Regions from separate parts of the Homo sapiens genome. Here region 1 is linked to region 2. The links are contacts of gene promoters, found by promoter capture Hi-C in blood cells and fetal thymus (Javierre and others, 2016). All regions are on one chromosome and are shown on one strand. Each heading gives the region's core, a stretch centred on a gene start or on the middle of the fragment in contact. The rest is flanking DNA. Distances are from core to core; before and after follow the strand shown. Region 1 has its middle 5.9 kb from the start of LINC-ADAIN. Region 2 holds the start of DOCK8-AS2 (DOCK8 antisense RNA 2).

Region 1 (4,769 bases), core at 2,028-4,527, 570 kb after region 2:
GCTTTCGTATATTGAACTGTATACCGAGGTCAGATCTAGTTCTTTTGGAAAAGATAAGCCAAATCTACTGACTTCATGACTCTTAAGTGGATGAAAGTTGAGTGTGCAGATGTCTGCATGAATTGTGCAAACTAGGGTGAAGAAAAACTGTAGAAAACAAAACAACAATCAAAACTCTGTTCTTTGAGATCCTGGGAGGTTGCCTGTTAACATGAATGTGATGGAGTTGAAGAGGTCTTAGGCTGGGCTCAAGAGGTGTTTTTACTCCTGGGCAAAGTGTAAGGCTCTAAGTGGAGAGGAATACAACAGGTGTGTAGTTCTAAAGCCAGGGCTGAGATAAAGTCTCTGCTAAAAGAACGAATTCTAGATCCTTAACAGCGTTAACAATCCTAAACCCTTTGAGGGAGTAATTATTGTGAGTTATGGAGGAAATTTCCCAAATTGGTTAGAAAAACTGCATAGAGTTCAGATTCTAGACTCTAGAATTTAGGGTTATGACTCACCCCTGCTACTTATATCTTTGTCCCTAGTCTACTGGCATCAAGCTGGGCTCTCAATGAGAATCTTGCCCAGATGATTTATCACGAGTTTGTGAGTTCTAGAAAGTATCAGATCTGAGGTCCCAAAAATTCCATTCAATTGGTATAATTAAATCTTACCAACTCAATAAATGGGGCTGCAGGTTTTTTGCTTTTGTTTTTGTTTTTTTTGAGACAGGAGTCTTGCTCTGTCACTCAGGTTGGAGTGCAGCAGTGGTATGATCATGGCTCACTGCAGACTCAACCTCTTGGGCTCAAGTGATCCTCCCACCTCAGCCTCCCGAGTAGATGGGGTTACAGGTGTGCACCACCATGCCTAGCTAACTTTTGATTTTTTGTAGCAATGAGGTTTTGCCATGTTGCCCAGGCTGGTCTCGAACTGCTGGGCTTAAACCGTCTGCCCACCTCAGCCTCCCAAAGTGCTGGGATTACAGGCATTAGCCCCCGCTTCTGGCCAGCTGCAGGTTTTAATAGACAGAAATGTAGTGGACGTTCTGAAGAATTTTTCTGAGCAGGGATGGGCAGAAAGATGGGTCCATTATAACTGTCGAATCTGGTTAACAGATATATAGATATTACATACCCATATGGATATATAGGTATGGAGGTTACTCTACTGGGTTATAGTAATGGATATTATATTACTGGTCTACTTTTGTATATTGTTAAAATTTCCGTAATTAAAAGTATAAGTAATATAAAAGAAAACAACCCAGCTTATAGTTCCAGCTGGAAACCAGCCTTAGCTGAGTGAGGTAAGAGTTGAAGCTGGACTCATCCTTTCTTGCACAATAACAGGGTTTCCTCTGAAGAGAAATGAAAAGCATTGAATCAACGTGCTTATTTAGAAAGCGTTTATTACCTTGCTGCATCCCTCTTCCTCTTCAAAGTGAGAATGACATTTCCTTTCCAGTGCTTCCACAGGGAAATAGAAATCTGTGTAAAAATTCCAGAGCTTTGTTCCTCACTGGCCACAAGGGAGGTTAGGCACTGGATTTCTTATATGGCTGATGAAGGGAACATAATGGCAGCTTCATTTTAGAAAAGGGTATTGCTTGAACAATAATTAATAAACCAGCACCCATATTTCCCTTTGTGGCCTTTCCCAGACTTGTCTTATTTGATCTTACCAACTTGTTACTCAGGGAGTGAGGTTCCTGATTAGAAAGCAAACTAAGTAAGAAAAGAAGTCTCATTCATACCTTATGCTTTAAATGCTTTCTTATTTTCAAAGAATTCCAATTGCTTTTTTTTTCATTTGGAAATCAGGAAGCCATTGACATAGGCAAGAAAAAATATTTATTATGTTCATTTTACAAATGAGGAGACTGAGGTTTAGAGAGGTTAAAGGAATTTTCCAAAACTTCACAAGTGCTCCAGGAATGATTTGGTGTCTTTTATGTTTTCAGAGCCCAGGCTTCCTGTGTTCTATGCAGTGTATAGATTTGTCTTTGGGTTATTTCCTATACCAAACTTTAGTCTTTCTCACTGGGTACAAAGGGAAATTCTAAAATTCTGTTCCCCATGGAAAAATGTCCTTTGCTCCTCGGGGCAGATTCTGCAGGGAGAGACTTGCAAATATGAAGGAGGAGTGGAAGGTGTGATCGGAGAAAATACCAAGGACTGAAGTGTGAAGGGGTATGGGATGGATTGGAGGCAGTTCTGAGATGAGAGCCTGCTGAATTCGTGTTCCGGGAGATCAAGTTGGCTTCTTCTGGAAAAAACCTGTAAGCTTGGGAAAGCTGGGATTGGCTTCCATCACAAGCAGCTGGGATCTAAGTTCATTTGCATCAGGGCCACTCCAGCTCAGTTCTGCTGGGAACCGTACCGGGATGGGTGTGGGACGGCCTCGAATTCAGATCCGGGTGCTGTTTTTTCTAGGCAGTCTCTCGGAGCCTGCTTCCTGGACTACAAAATGAAGAGTTGTGAAGAGTCAATAATGTCAAGTTGGAAGGGTCTGACACGGAATCTGACCAAGGCTGGACCCTCAATAATTGTGATTTCTTTTCCCCCTTTTCCTTCTTGGTAAAATCATCCCACGAATCTACGCAAGTAGGGCCCTTCGTCATTCTTCGGAGTAGCCGCTTGAGGGCTGGAAGGAGCAGTGATAGAAACCCCAGAGACGCAGAGACCCTCCGAACTTCGAACTCGATCACTGTCCTCCCCCGACCGCCGAACCCGCTGGAGAAGCGGGCGCGACAGGGCGATGAGTTAACGCGGAGGGAGCGCGGAGGCCGCGGAAGCCGGGGGCGCTGGGTCTCAGGCCCGGATGCTGAGCGCGGACCGGCGTGTCCTCCCCACAGCGCCCCCGCGCGGCCTCCTCCCGCTGCGCCCCGCACGGCGACCCGCCGCGGGTAGCCCTGGCGTTTGGCCACGCCGTCGGCTGAGGACCGCTAGAGCTGGGGGGAGATCAAAGCATTCCTATGGGGCCCAAAGAGCCTGGGATTGCAGTGTTGTTAGCCTGGCCTCGCCGCGTCAATAAATTTTCGGCGAAAGTTGGGAGCAGGAGTGGAGGCTTGGGGCGGGGGTTGGTGGGGCGCGGGGGTTGGCCGGAGGGAGGGTCCGGGGGTTTCTTGCACCTGCGCTCCTGCCGCGTTAAGTCAGTGGGAAGCAAGTGACATTTCCCTTTCACCCGCCCCCTTGGAACTTGCTCATCTCCCTCCTTTAGAACACCGCCTGCTCTCCGGGGTCAGCATTATCAAAGAGAAGATTTCCTCCAGGCCCTTAAAATTTACGTGGCGCCTTGTTACAAGGAGCGCGCTGGAAGCTGGCTTTGGTATCTCCTTGTCCCCTCTTTCTCCTGCCCCGCCCCCACATCCCCGTGGAGAAACCCCCGAGCAGGCCTTTTGCATTTTCTCACCCCACTTAGAACTACAAAAAATATATGGGAAGGTGATTTGGTTTCACTTCAACCTCTTCATTTTGCAGAAGCCTAAAGTGGTGATGGTGAGAAAAGTGGCCCAAGGTCAAGGGTTACTTCAGTTGGCAAAACCAGGAGTAGAACAGGAGAATCCCTAGAGTCTTACTATATATTTTTTGCTACTTATTTCATGGACAAAAATAATCATTCTCTTAGGCAGGTCAAGTACTCTTTAAAGGTGTCTGTGCTTTTGCCAGTTGGCTGCAAAACTTAGCATCACACTTGTCACCTGGACATCATGGGGAGTCGCTGGCTATCCAACGACAGAGCCGAGTACACTCTGATCCCTCCTCTGAGACACTCCTTTCTCACTCCCACTCCATCCTGAAAAACACTATGGAGCATGTGTTCTGGGCAAGTCTTCTCCCAGGCGTGGGTAAAATTTGAGCACAGGGATTCTTCTGGCATAATTGGGGGGAATCCCTCCTCCAGCAAGAACACTTTTCAGAGGGATCTCCTGGGGCTAACAGGAAAGGCAATATTTCAGCCCTCCACAGAGCTGAAACTCAGACCTCAGAGTCAGCTTCGCACAGGACAGGGCTAAGGAAGCCTGGTAATTTTTGGCTTAAAGTCCAGTCAGAATGAACCTGACCTAGAAGCCACAGGATCATGGAACCTTTGTGACTTGTGGCAACCTTCTTTGTCACTTGGATGAATCCTATTGGATCTGGGCTCTAGGAAACTGAATCTTTTGTGAAACTACTCCATGTCCCATCGTTTCCCTAGTTGATAGATTCCACCCACCCCCTACATTTTTAACTAGGTAAGATTAATAGCAGTAGCATAGAGGAGCAAAAATATCACCAAAATGTCAAAACCAATGCCAAAGCTTGTTTCTAATTCCCCACACGCCACCTTCTTTTCCTTCTCCTCTCCTCCTCCTGTCCAGCTTGGACTTTCTTCATACCCTTGATCTTGCTACCTGAGCAAGCAGTCCATCAGATGGGAGTTAAGATTTGTTACAGTCTTTAACGTTTGAGGCAGAACCTAGAAATCAATGTACTTCCCTCCTTCACTTTACAGTCAAGGAAGCCCAGGCCCAGGAAGGTGGAAAGATTTGCTGAGGGGTTCATGCACATGGAAGAAGTTAACTTTTCATCACAGCACCTGCCTTGCCAACACTTGGCAATCCCCCCCCCGCCCCGCCCCGCCTTGATTCCTCTCTACCTGGTTGTTAGACTGCTGGGAAAATATGGAGAGTGATTTCAGTGTGGATAAAGCCTGCCCCCTTGAAATGTAAAACCCCAAAATAGAATGGGAATAGGGAGTGGAAAGTTCTCAGAGTTAAGGGTTTACTGTTCCAGTTAGTC
Region 2 (4,709 bases), core at 354-2,853:
TCTGATAATCACTAAGTTTTTAATTATGAAATTACTAGAGGAAATGCAGCATCACCTTGGTTGAAAACCATTTGGAGAGCCGTGCACATTCCTGATCCCTAAGTCCTTGATGTTGCACCCATCTTGAGGAGCAGTGCTCTCTCTGGACCGATGTTACTGAATCCAACCCAGTTCCTACTTGATGTTTGTGGCATTAGCTTGGCAGCTAGTTTTTACGTTTACTATTTTTACTACATATTAGGAGATGGCAAATTACTGATAGCCAGGATAAGGGAATGATTTTCAAGGCATTATAGCTCTAAAAAACAATTGAGAAATCAGCTCCCTCATCACTTCCTTAATGCAATGAGAGAACACGACACGGATGAACAAACTGTTCTGTTATCCAACAAGATTATCAAGAGTTATTAGTGAGATAATAAAAAAGTATATGTGACTGCCAAAAGTCTCCAGACTAAGGACCAGAAGACCTGGTTTCTTGTTCTTTCACTTTCTAGTCCTGCAATTCTGGCGAAGATACTATACTGCTCTGAGCTTCAGGGTTTTTTTCACTGTGAAAGAGGGTGCAAGTTCCTCCACATTCTTCCAATCTACTGAGGAAACCCAATGAGATAATGCATGGGAACATGTTTTGGAAACTCAAAAGTGCTGCCCAAAATGTAAGGTAACACTGTTTACAATTGACACTTCCAGAAAGTTTAGCCAGCACCCCCACACATGGCATCCGCTTCTGACAACGTTAATCAAAATCAGGCCAAAGGTGCAGGCAGGACAGAGGCCTGACTTACCAGAAAATAAACGTCTGGTCTATTCCACTTGTAGTGCCAGTTTACATTGTCTGGCGAGAGCCAACTACCAGGGCCTCCGGGTAGAAGAAAGAAAGGGTATCAGTGGAACTGAGAGTGTATACAGTGGCGCCTGAAAGCGGGTAGAAGAAAGAAAGGGTATCAGTGGAACTGAGAGTGTATACAGTGGCGCCTGAAAGCGGGTAGAAGAAAGAAAGGGTATCAGTGGAACTGAGAGTGTATACAGTGGCGCCTGAAAGCGGGTAGAAGAAAGAAAGGGTATCAGTGGAACTGAGAGTGTATACAGTGGCGCCTGAAAACCCAACCTCGCCAGGCTTCCCTGTCTCCTGTGTGCAGCATGTGTGCAGTGCATTCCCCTGGAAGGTAAATTCGCGGAGTCCCGCAGCCCACCTGTGTCCACCTAGCCTGTAAGTGCCCCCTGAGGGTATCAAAGCACGCGGACTTCCGCCTGAAGCAAAGCCACCGGGCGGCAAGTTTCCCCGTTAACAACAACGAAGACAGAGAGGACTTGGCAGCTGTGACGGATCTGCAATAATTAAACTGACGTTGCTGTTTAGAAGCCTGGGGGTCGCCTGCAGCCTCCCAGGCTCCACTCCATCGGCTCCAGCGCTGCAGGCGGGCCGTGCATGTCTCTAGATGCATATTAAGCAAAAAGTTTCTAAAGAGGATCGCGTGGAACCCAGCAATTGATTAAGAATCTCAATGGCCCTAATCCCCTGAGAATTGAACTAAGGGCTCCCCAGCAAACACAGCGATTTACATGGGGCCTAGAGAGAGCGAGCACTGCCGGGGGCGGCGGCGAAGGGCAGCAGTGGTGGGACGGGCGGGGTAGGGGGAGTTACTGAGCATGCGCCCGGGTAGGGGCGTGGGGGAGTTACTGAGCATGCGCCCAGGTAGGGGCGTGGGGGAGTTACTGAGCATGCGCCCGGGTAGGGGCGTGGGGGAGTTACTGAGCATGCGCCCGAGGGTGTTTCGGGGCGTCCGAAGCGGGCGTGCTCCAGCCTGCTCAGCAGCGAGTGGTTGGAAATTAGCAAAGTGAGAGGGTGCGTGGCCTGAGGGACTCGGGGAGGCTGAGGGCTTTTTTTCTCAACACTGTGAAGCTCAGGGAAAGGAGTAGAACTGGGAACCAAGTAAAGTAAAATCGTGGCAAGTGGGCATAGACCTGAAATCTCCTTCGTGAGGGAACCCAGAACGTGCAGCTCAATGTATGTTTGGAACGAACAGGTGAAAGGAAGCAGGAGGAGGAGGGAGTTCTAGCGAAGACTTCGGAGGGAAGCAACCCATCCCCTGCCACAAGAAAGCACCGCCACTCCAGTGGGAACGGACACGCGTGCACACAGCCACGAGTGAGGTTTGAAAGAGGCCCCACCCTCCATTACACCTGTGCTCCACCGTGGCCCCCAGCCAAGTTTAATCTCCCATTCAGCACTTACTTCTGGAAGCTTCTTTCCCTTTCCTTCCCACCACTCATTGGCCTTTCACCCCCTAGTTTTTTGTCTGTGTGTGGGACTGTCTTCCCCCACTCCCCTTGACTGAAGTTCCTTGAGAGCAGCAGCCCTCTTTTTATCAGGGAAGAGATTTGAAGCTCAGGACATTCTTATCCAAGTAGGTGCTAGCCACCTGGGTAGTCAAGACAGGGCCCTGCACAGTTAATGTGAATCTTGTCATAATGCCAGGGTTATTGTTTTGCAAGGAGCCGGTCATAGAACACTAGATTGCATTGTCACTGGGAAATAAGCTCATTCTATTAGCTTGTTTCTCAGCTAGCTTATGTAGAAATTTGCCACAGTTGTTACTGCTGGGCACCTGCCCTGGATCTGATCATCAATTATATCATCTCTTCCATCTGATGGACTGCACCTCACCCCTTGCTTTTTCAGAGCTGGCGAAGCTGGGCCAAGGAAAGCGATAGTGCCAGCTGAGTGGAATGTGCAGGAAGGGACCGAGGAGGGGCACTATGTACTGGAGAAAAGAGATGGGGTCTCCAGGACAGGGGTAAGGACACTAGACTGAGGGCACAAAGGAAGGAAACCACAAGGAAGTAGAGTAGGGAAGTGGGGAGCATGCTGAGGAGAGAGGTCAAGAGATGGTGACCGCTCTCTGCATGCCCCAAGGAGATGGTGATGACACTCCCAAGTCCATGTGGGACTCCCTCCTTATGCGGGCCTCAGTCTGTCATCTTCCTTGGAGCAGGACCAAAGTAAATAAGATAAAGTCACAATTTCTCATCCTTCTTCACTCAACTTTTCTTTGAGGTGAGTTGGCATTTTTGTAAAAGAATGCATTCTCTGCCAGATGCGGTGGCTCACCCCTGCAATCCCAGGGTTCTGGGAGGCCAAAGTGGGAGGCTTGATTGAGGCCAGGGGTTCGAAACCTAGGCAACATAGCAAGACCTCCATCTCTGTAAAAGAAATTAGCCAGGCATGGTGGTGCATACTTGTAGTCCTAGCTACTTCGGAGGCTGAGGCGAGAGAATCGTTTGCACTTAGGCATTGGAGATTACAGTGAGTTAAGCGTTCTCCTGTACTGCCATGGTAGGTGGGTGTTGCTAGCCACATGAGGATATGTGAGCCGGTCACCAGGGACTGCGGCTGACTCCCCGAGCACAAGGACAGTAAGAATAAACCTCCGATTATTCCCCTGCCCCCAACCCCAACTTCAATTAAAGAGATATACCCTTATGTGACTGACAAAAAAGAGCCCTGCTCTCCCAGAGTCACATCCCCATACGCCAAAACACTCTTACATATAATTATTGGTGCTTCATAAATGGCTGATAAAAAAACTTTTCTATCAGGGAATACACCCTACCTTATTCACAGCCTCTTATAGAGAGCTGGCCTGCCCACAGTCTCTGTAAGGGGCAGTTGTCTCTTCTGAGTGACCAGTTTCCCTGACCTCCCCTCAAGCCATGACTGACCAAGGAAGTCAATGTCACCACTGAGAAGCAAGGCGTAGCCTCAGACTCTGAGTTTCTAACTCTTTCCACTTTCCTAAGATGGGGTTATGCCTCATTTCTGAGAGATTTCCAACCCTCTGCCATATATTCCTCTTTTTGTGAGGTCACTTGGGGAGGTGTCTGCTTCTTAGCACCAGAAGAGCTCTCTCAGGACCCAGTTGCTGACCCAGTTGCTGCAAATGCTGAAAGTAGGAAATGGAGGTCAAGTGTAGGCCATAAAGATTTTCCCACTCCTCCTCTTGAATCAGGCATGGCCTTGTGAATTACTTTGGCCCATAGAATGCGGCAAAGTGATACTGTACAAGTTCTAGCCTTGGTCTTAAGCCTGCCAGCTTTTGCTTTCACTCCCTTGGAGCCCTGAGCTAGTATAGAAAGAGATCCAGCTGCAAGGACTGGTTACACAATTTGCAGGGATTAGTGTAAAAGGAAATGCAGGTTTCCTTGTTTTAAAATTATTCCGAATTTTAAGGCGGTGACAACAGAGCCCTATACCAAGCAGAGGCTTGATCCGAGCTGGTGCAGGCATGACAGCCAGGCTTCCTGATACATGAGTGATGCTATCTTGGATTTCTGGCCCCAATTCAGCCTCCTAATGGTCAGCATGAGAGCATGAACTACCCTAGGTGAGACCAGTAGAAGAACCCAGCTCAGATTACAAAACTATGAGCAAACAAACGGTTGTTATTCAAGTAAAGCTCACTAAAGCTCTTCATGACAAACGGGTATAGTCATGGGGGCCGCTAAGGCCTGGGTTGAGATTTTATATAGCAATAGGTAACTGAAGCATGAAGAATAAGAGTTTGCAGTGAGTGGTCACCCACCATATTCCAGGCCCTGTGTTGGTGCATTGCATGTGCCAGCTCACCTGATCCTCACAACACCTTTCATAATTCCTTTCTACAGGAGAGAATACAGCAGTTCCAAGGACAAGGGATTCGTACCAC

What was found. Contacts are between HindIII fragments. The CHiCAGO score rates a contact against its expected background, and 5 or more counts as called.
Region 1: a contact is called between a fragment that was not itself captured here and the fragment with the promoter of DOCK8-AS2 in region 2, in 1 of 17 cell types (M0 macrophages). The highest score is 6.9, in M0 macrophages.

What each region holds. Positions count from the first base shown.
Region 1 is chr9:1,039,840-1,044,608 of GRCh38, forward strand. No RefSeq gene overlaps it. Among named protein-coding and RNA genes, the nearest start is that of LINC-ADAIN, 5.9 kb to the right of the region's middle. The HindIII fragment of the contact is 2,017 bases long and covers 2,270-4,286 here.
Region 2 is chr9:468,526-473,234 of GRCh38, forward strand. DOCK8-AS2 (DOCK8 antisense RNA 2) reads right to left here and starts at 1,604. Exons shown (of 2, transcript XR_002956871.2): 1 at 789-1,604. It also overlaps a transcript of KANK1 not described here. RefSeq lists enhancers at 432-481, 722-821, 1,354-1,879, 1,382-1,531 and a silencer at 1,642-1,691. The HindIII fragment of the contact is 2,947 bases long and covers 1-2,246 here.